Linked DNA regions of Homo sapiens: region 1 is linked to region 2. Evidence: promoter capture Hi-C in 16 types of primary human blood cells and fetal thymus (Javierre and others, 2016). All regions are on one chromosome and are shown on one strand. The core of a region is centred on a gene start or on the middle of the fragment in contact, and the rest is flanking DNA. Distances in the headings are between cores, read along the strand shown. Region 1 has its middle 2.7 kb from the start of LRRC43. Region 2 holds the start of BCL7A (BAF chromatin remodeling complex subunit BCL7A).

What was found. The method cuts DNA at HindIII sites, captures the fragments that hold promoters and counts their contacts. A CHiCAGO score of 5 or more calls a contact.
Region 1: a fragment that was not itself captured here is called in contact with the fragment with the promoter of BCL7A in region 2 in 2 of 17 cell types (M1 macrophages and M0 macrophages); the score reaches 5.6 in M1 macrophages.

Annotation. Positions count from the first base shown.
Region 1 is chr12:122,177,979-122,182,807 of GRCh38, reverse strand. It overlaps a transcript of LRRC43 not described here. Among named protein-coding and RNA genes, the nearest start is that of LRRC43, 2.7 kb to the left of the region's middle. The HindIII fragment of the contact is 1,531 bases long and covers 711-2,241 here.
Region 2 is chr12:122,020,625-122,025,057 of GRCh38, reverse strand. It overlaps BCL7A (BAF chromatin remodeling complex subunit BCL7A), which reads right to left and starts at 3,174. Exons shown (of 6, transcript NM_001024808.3): 1 at 2,875-3,174. The coding sequence starts at 2,966. RefSeq lists silencers at 886-975, 2,456-2,615, 2,766-3,085, 3,216-3,295 and an enhancer at 1,806-2,621. The HindIII fragment of the contact is 6,381 bases long and covers 1-4,433 here.

The sequences.
Region 1 (4,829 bases), core at 227-2,726, 160 kb before region 2:
GGTTCCAGGGTGGTCTCTCTAACCCTGGAGTCAGGGATTTTATCACTGTCCACCTGTATAACTGTTTAATCACCCAGACCTCATTTTTTAAATTTTTTATTTATTTTATTTTATTGAGACAGAGTCTCGCTCTGTCGCCCAGGCTGGAGTCCAGTGGCGAGATCTCAGCTCACCGCAATCTCCGTGTCCCGGGTTCAAGCGATTCTCCTGCCTCAGCCTCCCGAGTAGCTGGGATTACAGGCGCGCATGACCACTTCCGGCTTTTTTTTTTTTTTTTTTTTTTTTGAGACCGAGTTTCACTCTTGTTGTCCAGGCTGGAGTGCAATGGCGCGATCTCGGCTCACTGCAACCTCCGCCTCCCAGATTCAACCGATTCTCCTGCCTCAGCCTCCCGAGTAGCTGGGATTACAACCGCCTGCCACAACGCCCCGCTAATGTGTATTTTTAGTAGAGACGGGGTTTCACCATGTTGGCCAGGCTGGTCTCGAACTCCTGACCTCAGGTGATCCACCCACCTCGGTCTCCCCAAGTGCTGGGATTACATACGTGAGCCACCGCACCCAGCCTAATTTTTTGTATTTTAGTAGAGATGGAGTTTCACCATGTTGCCCAGGTTGGTCTCAAACTCCTGGGCTCAGGCAATCCACTGGCCTCAGCCTCCCAAAGTGTTGGGATTACAGGCGTGAGCCACCACGCCCAGCCATGAAGCTTCTTTTATAAGGACATTGATCCCATTCCTGAGGAGCCCCCAAACTTAATCACTTCCCAAAGGGCCCCACGTTTTAATACTATCACACTGGGCATCAGGTTCTGACAAATGAATTTTGGAGGAACACATTAACATCTCTCATTCTTTTTGACTATACGATATCGGGACAACTTTACTGTTATTAGAAAAATTAGGCTGGGCGCGATGGCTCACCCCTGTAAACCCAGCACTTTGGGAGGCTGAGGTGGGTGGATCACCTGAGGTCAGGAGTTCGAGACCAGCCTGATCAACATGGTGAAACCCCGTCTCTACTAAAAATACAAAAATTAGCCAGGCGTGGTGACACATGCCTATAGTCCCAGCTACTTCGGAGGCTGAGGCAGGAGAATTGCTTGAACCCAGGAGGCGGAGGTTGCAGTGAGCCGAGATCACATCACTGCACTCCAGCCTGGGCAACAGAGTGAGACTGTCTCAAAAAAAAAAAAAAATTTATCCAAAACTGGGAGTTAAGGCAAAAAGATGACCATATGTCCTTTCTTTTCCTTTTTTTTTTTTTGAGACGGAGTCTCCCTCTGCCGTCCAGGCTGGAGTGCAGTGGTGCAATCTCGGCTCACTGCAAGCTCCGCCTGCCAGGTTCACGCCATTCTCCTGCCTCAGCCTCCTGAGTAGCTGGGACTACAGGCGCCCGCCACCAAGCCCGGCTAATTTTTTGTATTTTTAGTAGAGACGGGGTTTCACCGTGTTAGTCAGGATGGTCTCGATCTCCTGACCTCGTCATCCGCCCACCTCAGCCTCTCAAAGTGCTGGGATTACATGCATGAGCCACCGGGCCCAGCCAACCATATGTCCTTTCAAAGAAGAAAATATCCTTTTTTTTTTTTGAGGCAGGGTCTCCCTTTGTTATCCAGGCTACTGTGCAGTAGCGTGATCACAGGTCACTGAAGCCTGGACCTCCTGAACTGAAGCGGTCCTCCCACCTCAGCCTCCTGAGTGGCTGGGACTACAGGCATGCATCACCATGCCTGGCTAATTTTTTTGTATTTTTAGTACAGATGGGGTTTCGCCATGTTGCCCAGGCTGGTCTCGAATTCCTGACCTCAAGTGATCCACCCACCTCAGCCTCCCAAAGTGCTGAGATCACAGGCGTGAGCCACCATGCCTGGCTCTCAAAGAATAAAATAAATATCTATGAGTCCATAGTGATATAAATAAATCAAGGAGATGAATCACAGATATGGCTCCTGCAATTTTGATGGAGCAACAGATGGACAATGTGCAGTGAAGGAAGAGAAGACTGAGAGGGGAAATCAAGCATCCTGTTTGGAACAAGTTAAGGTCCAGATGCCAATGGGCGTCTACTGTGTCAAATCAGCCATTGGTTAGGAGTAAGAGCTCAGGAATGAGGTCAGGTCTGGGCAGACCACAGAGCCCAAGATACACAGAAGAGGCCCAGCCAGGAAGCCCTTCCACCCTTCATCCCAAGTCCCCCTGCAGCCAACACTGTCTCTTTTCTCTTCCTTCTCATCCAAGCTTCTTGACACAGTGGTCTATACTCACTTTTTCTTTTTTTCTTTTCTTTTGAGACGGAGTTTTGCTCTGTTGCCCAGGCTGGAGTGCAGTGGCGCAATCTTGGCTCACTGCAACCTCCGCCTCCTGGGTTCAAGCAATTCTCCTGCCTCAGCCTTCTGAGTAGCTGGGATTGCAGGCTCCCGCCACCATGCCCAGCTAGTTTTTGTATTTTTAGTAGAGACAGGGTTTCTCCATGCTGGTCAGGCTGGTCTCGAACTCCTGACCTCAAGTGATCCACCTGCCTTGGCCTCCCAAAGTGCTGGGATTACAGGTGTGAGCCACTCGCCCCTGGCCTATGCTCACTTTTTCCTCACTTCCCAAACCACCACAATATAACTGCCACACCAAAAATTTATTCAAACTCTCCCAGCAAAGTTTCTGTGACCTCATGTTGCCCAATCTAGTGAATCTCCTCAGCCTTTATCTTATTTGACCTCTTCATGGCTTTTGATGATGCCAACCATTTCCTCCTTGAAAAACTGCTTTTCATCTTATTCCATGACAACATGTATTTCTGGTGTTACTTTTCTTTCTCTCTCTCTTTTTTTTTTTTTTTTTTTGAGACGGAGTCTCACTCTGTCACGAGGCTGGAGTTCAGTGGCGCAATCTCGGCTCACCGCAACCTCCACCTTCTGGGTTCAAGCAATTCTCCTGCCTCAGCCTCCTGAGTAGCTGGGACTACAGACACGCGCCACCACACCCAGCTAATTTTTTTGTATTTTTAGTAGACAGGGTTTCACCATGTTGGCCAGGATGGTCTCGACCTTTTGACCTCGTGATCCGCCCGCCTCGGCCTCCCAAAGTGCTGGGATTACAGGTGTGAGCCACCGCACCCAGCCTTCTTTTTCTCTTGAGAGTGCCTTCTCCATGTTCTAGATTAAATCATCATCTTCTCCTTGTCCTGTTAATGGAAGCATGTCCCAGGGCTCCACACGACTTCCACACCTCACACTGCTCATCTCTTACTGGCTTACAGTTTTATCTGCCACAATACCTTGATGGCACCCACATTTACATCTGTAGTTCCTTCCTACACGCTTCAGATCCACACGTCCAACAGCCTACTGTGTGTCTTCAGCTGAGCATCCATAACACTTCCCATTCACTGTGTCAAAAGCTGAATCAGGCCGGGCACGTGGCTTGCACCTACAGTCGCAGCACTTTGGGAGGCCAAGGTGAGTGGATTGCTTGAGCCCCGGAGTTTAAGACCAGCCTAGGCAATAGAGGAGGATCTTATTTCTACAAAAAGTTAAAATTAAAAAGTTAGCCAGGCCTGGTGGTATGCCGTGTGCCTATAACCCCAGCTACTCAGGAGGCTGAGGCGGAAGGATCTCTTGAGCCTGGGAGTTTGAGGCTGCAGTGAGCTGTGATCACACCACTGCACTCTAGCCTAGGTGACAGACTGAGACCTTGCCTCTTAAAGAAAAGAAAACCAAACCAAACCAGCCAACCAACAAGCAAAGAGCCAGAATTCATCACCTCACCCGAGCCCCAAAGGCCTGAGGCCTGTGATCCTCTTCGTTTGTACCAATATCATTTATCCAGTTGCTCAAACCAGAAACCCAGAGGTTGTCCTCAACTCTTCCCTCTCCACCATCCCCATATCCAATCAAACACCACCCTGGCCAGGCACCATGGCTCACGCCTATAATCCCAGCACCTTGGGAGGCCGAGGCAGGTGGATCACAAGGTCAGGAGTTCAAGACCAGCCTGGCCAACATGAAAAAACCCCATCTCTACTAAAAATACAAGAAAAACAAACAAACAAAAAAACGCCAAGAGTGGTGGCTCACGCCTGTAATCCCGGCTACTCAAGAGGCTGAGGCAGGACAATCGCTTGAACCCGGGAGGCAGAGGTTGTGGTGAGCCGAGATCATGCCACTGCACTCCAGGCCAGGTGACAGAGCAAGACAATGTCTCAAAAAAAAAAAAAAAAAAAAAAAAAAAGAAAGCCACCTCTTACGTATTTTTCCTCCTAAACATTTCTACAACCCATCCACACCTCTTCATCTCCACTATCACTATTACCCTCTTCTCACCCTCACCTTTGGGCATGTTGATTTTGAGGTATCACTGGGACATTCAGGTGGACATTTAGGTCTGGAGTGTGAAGGAGACAGACAGTAAAGTGTGAGGAATCCAGATCACGGGTGGACACCGTGGAGCTAGGGAGAGGGGCAAAAGGGATCAGGATGACGTTGTTACAGGAGAGGTTGTTACGAGAGGTTGTCAAGAAGGTGGAAGTGGTTGGCAATGTTTCATGCTATAGAGGGGTCATGTAAAATGAAGGCTGAAACCCCAGTAAGGCTGACATGTGGTCTCTGGGTACTGTATTAGTTCTCTATTGCTGCCATAACAAATATCACAAACAGCAGTTTAAAACCACAAATGCAGCCAGGCGTGGTGGCTCCCACTTGTAATCCTAGCACCTTGGGAGGCCAAGGTGGGTGGATCACTTGAGGTCAGGAGTTCAAGACCAGCCTGGACAACATGGCAAAACCCTGTCTCTACAAAAAATACAAAAATTAACCAGGCATGGTGGCACGTACCT
Region 2 (4,433 bases), core at 1,925-4,424:
ACTGGCCTGCCTTGCTGAAACACCAGAAAAAGAGAACAGGAGGCAGCCTGCCCCAAATGAGAGGGAGGCCACAGCTTTTTCCGGGGGTGGGGGAAGCATCAGGGGACAGTGGGTGGGTCGGGGGGGTAATTTTAGGGGTCACTAGGGCTGAGGAGAAACCCACCCAAGGCTCATGGGGCCAAATGATCTGCCAAACACTTCGGCTTCCCTCTGGGTAAAATACAGGGTGCCCTGTTAAATTTGCATTTCAGATAAATTAGATAATGTTTTAGTATAAGTGTGTCCCAAATATTGCATGAGACATACTCAAAAACATTTATTTTTAAAAAAATCTTTCATTGTTTATCTGAAATTCAAATTTAACTGGGTGTGCTGTATTTTTATCTGGTTAAACCTGGCAACCCCACCCCCCCACCAGTGGTGAAATGCATGGTTGGTGACCACACAATTAATAAACAACCCACAGTCTCATGGGCTGAGTCTAAGACCCAATCCGAAGGCGCGGGGAAGGTGAGATATGGCTTCTCAGGGGCCAGAGAAACCTGGGCAATAAGTCCAAGGCTTTCGCTTAGAAGGGGCCAAAAAAAAAAAAAAACAAAAAACCTCAAAGCCAAGTTTCTACAAAGTCCACCTTACAACACAGACAACACTGAGCAACAGCTCCTCCTGCGCCCAGGGCGCGGTGCTCTCGGAGGCATGACCTCAATCGTCCTCAATAACCCGAGGGGACCTGGAAGCCAAGCACAAAACCCCGGGTCACCATGGTTAGAGAAGTGACAATGATATGCCCAAGGTCGCGGCAACGAAGTGAACTGGAAGCTGGACCATGAGATCCCAAAGCCTGAGGTCTTCAGAGGACACGATGTGTTGTTTCCCCAAACCCAGGGAGGCGCAGAGGTACAGCCCCTCAAGCTCCAACTACAGGCCTGGTCCCCGCGGGGTCAGCGGGCTGGAAGGCCTCCAGGCCGGCCGCCCCGGGGCCCGCGGGGTGGGAAGCCCCATCTCTCCATCTGCCCTCCCTGCAGAGCAGCTGGCCGCTCTGCGGGAGCAGCTGTCAGGGTGCAGGAGCCTCTGTCCAGCCGGGAACCTGGAGTAGGAGGCCCCACCACGCCTCCTCGAGCAGAGAAAGGCGGCTTGCCGGCTGTTTCCCAACCTCCAGGCCGGCGACAGAAGGGACCCAGGCACAGACACCAGTTCTTTCTTTGCACAGGGGCTGAGGCAAGGAGGGGAGCAACTCCGGGCTTCCCGCGGGGAATCCCACAGTAGAGGGGGCTGCGGGTTGTTTTCCAGCGTGTGTGTGTTGGCCTGCAGCTGTTTCTGCCATTTTTAAATGGCTCCAGTCGGGCACCGGGCACCCTGTGTACCAGGGGAGCTCCCGAGACACCGACGACTTGGATCTCAACTTTGGAAAGCCTCCCCTTCTCACGGTTCTGAAAATTCTTTGTCCCACTGGAGCCAAACCCAGCCCACGGCCGGGCATCCGGCCATCGCAGCCAGCCCTTTCCATAGGAGGCCGGGGAGCACGTGGACTTTATTGATTTTCCTCTTGCCTTTTTTGTTGGGTTTGACTCAGAAAGGACAGCTAACTTGTGACACCGCCACACCGGAGGCTCGCCCCCAGTGGCTTTTAGAGACCGAGGCGCTACTCGAGAAACGACACCCCCAAACGTAAACATCCCCTGCCACAGGGCCTGCCCAGCTTCCAGGCTCGAAATAAAGGGTCGAGACGAGCCCGCGGGCGCTGACACTCAGAGCCAGCGTTGCGGCGGCTCCTCTCCCTCCGGGACCCCAGTGAAGGCGTGGGAAAAAAATAATAAAGTTGAAATCAGGCAGCGGGGAGTTTTCAACAACTCTGACCCAACCTGGCGATCTGCTTGCGCCTCGGGCCTGGCCCAGGGGCCGATTCCGAGCAGACCCCGACGAGGCCGCGGAAAGGTTCGATCCCCTTAATGTCGACCGGGCCACGCCGGGCGGACGCTAATGTGATCCCGAAAACCACGCGCGGCCGCCACCAAGTCCCCCTCTCCCCGGTGCAGAGAACAAAAACAACAGCTCCCTCCGCAAAACAAACACGAGCTCCCGGTGTGGAGAGGCAGCCGCGGCCCAGGACGAACGGCTTCTGGCCAAAAACATCGGCTGGCCCGAGCCCCCCGCCCGGGGCGCCGCGCAGAGCGGGGTGGGACGTGGGCGCCCCGCGCCCCTGGCCGCTGGCTCCCAGCGCTCGCCCCCATCTTTCCTGGTCGCCGAGAGCCCTCGCTCCAGGCAGCCCAAAGCGCTAAATTTAAACGGCTCGCGCTCTGCAAACTCCGCAGACTCGAGGGCGCCGGGCCCGGGAGGCGGGAGCGGGCGGCCGGGCGGGCCGGGGCTGGCGGAGGGCGGCGGGGCGCGGGCCGGGGTGCGCGGGGAGGAGACGGCGGCGGCGGCCCGCTCGGAGCCTGCACAATGGAGCTCGCGCTCTCCCCGCCGCCGCCGGCATCGCGGCCCCGGCGCGCGGGAAGCCGCTTTCATGTGACTTGCACAAAACGAAATGGCTTCTGGGGCCGGCCCCGAGCCCCCCTCCCGGGAGCCGAGCGCCGCGGCGGGGGCCGCCCCGCCGCTCCAACCGCCTGGCCCCGGCGCCCGCCGCCTCCGGGCCGCCGCGCCAGGTGGGCTACAGGCGCGAGCGCACCTGGGCAGCGGCCGCGGCCCCAGCCTGGCGCAGGTGACCCGGCTCGCGCGCCGCCCGCCCGTCCGCCCGCCCTCGCCAAGTCCCGGGGCCCGCGGCGGGGCTGGGCCGGGGCAGGCGGCCGGGGCGCTGCGCCCCGCGGCTCTCTGGAGCCGCGCTCGGGCTCGGGGCGGCCGGGGAGGCGGCTGGCGGCGGGCGCCTCCGCTTACCATTTGCGCACTTTCTCGATCGCCGCCATGACCCTCTTGATATCATCTTTGGCCCGGCTCCTCGTCTCGGCTCGAACCGACCTGCCCGACATGGTTCCGGCGGGGAGACGGAGGCTGGGGAGCGCGCCCGCCGGGTCCTGCTCGCGCTCCGCGGCGGCCACACTCGCGCCCGCCCGCCGCTCACTCACTCGCGCACAGACACTCGCACTCTCACACGCACACACTCACACACACACACACACACACACACACATACACACACACACAAAGCCCGGGGCCGCCGCGCGCCTGGCCCAGTGCGCAAGCGCCGGGCGGCAGCTGCACAGAGCAGGGGGAGCCGCGCCGCCGCCGCCGCCGGCAGTGCGGCCTCCGGGCGCCGCGGCCACCGGGCAGCGCCCCCGGGCCTCCTGCGCCCCCAGAGGGGACGCCCCGGACGCCCTCCTGGGGAGGTGGCGAAGGGCGCACGGCGACCCCCGGCTCTGGGCGCGCGGTGGGGGCGGGCGTGCGGACACGCGCGCTGACCCTTCCTCGGAGGCTGCAGGTGCCGAGGGGTCCATGGGAGACAGCCGGTCTGCGGGGCGCGGGGGGGTCGCGTTCCCCGGGAGCCAGCCCAGCTGCCCCTGCCCAGCCCCCAGAGCGCGGCGGCGGGTGCAGTCGTGCAAGTTTCTTGCGGGTCTCTTGACTTCTCCGAGTTGAAGGCACCGGTTCGGGACGCGAGGTGCTCTTGGAAAGAGTTGGGCATCGCGCATCTCTGCTGGCCCGCGGCCCTGTTCAAATGCGAGCTAGGACGTCGCCTGCCCCAGGCTTTGTCCTTTTGGAAAACTAGGGTTGTAGGAAGGTGCCTGGTGCCAGGCAGACCACCAGAGACTCTCGACCTTGAGTACTAAAGAGTTTTCTGCTCAGCAAAAGCTCAATGATGATCAGCATCGTAACAGGGACTCTTCCTCCCGCCCCCAGAAGTTCTCTTGTCATAAACAAGGCGAGGGGGTCTTCGCTGAGCTTCACCAGAGGACCACGATTTCACCTTAAGCCATTCCTGACTTCAGTACCAGACTGAGACCAGGCGCTGCTACTGCCCAAATGACCCCTGGTCCCATCTACAAGGAGCACTTTTGAGGCCTCAGAACAGAGCCCCGGGGAGAAATCTGCGATGATCAGGGTAACCTGGGTGCCGCATCTTGCTGTTCAGCTGCAGCGGAACCGGCCGGACCAGAGCTAATGCGCGCCCAGAATGAAGAGGGAGACCGAGAGTGGCCCAAATGTCAGCGCCCCGGGCCTGGAGATGACAGCCCGACAGCAGCCATTTCACAGCTGGGGAAACTGAGTCCTGGGAAAGTTTAAGGTTGCAGCCTTAAGTTGTTACTCATTCTAGACGTTTCCCCTGAGGGTTTGGTCTTTGGGGAACACGCTACTGTGGAAATGGAGAGACCGCAGGCCTTTTCCTAGGCATTTGTTTTTACTATTCTGAAACGCAGTCTCCTGACGTGAAAAATGAAGAAAAGAACAAATACTGGCCGGGCGCGGTGGCTCATGCCTGTAATACCAGCACTTTGGGAGGC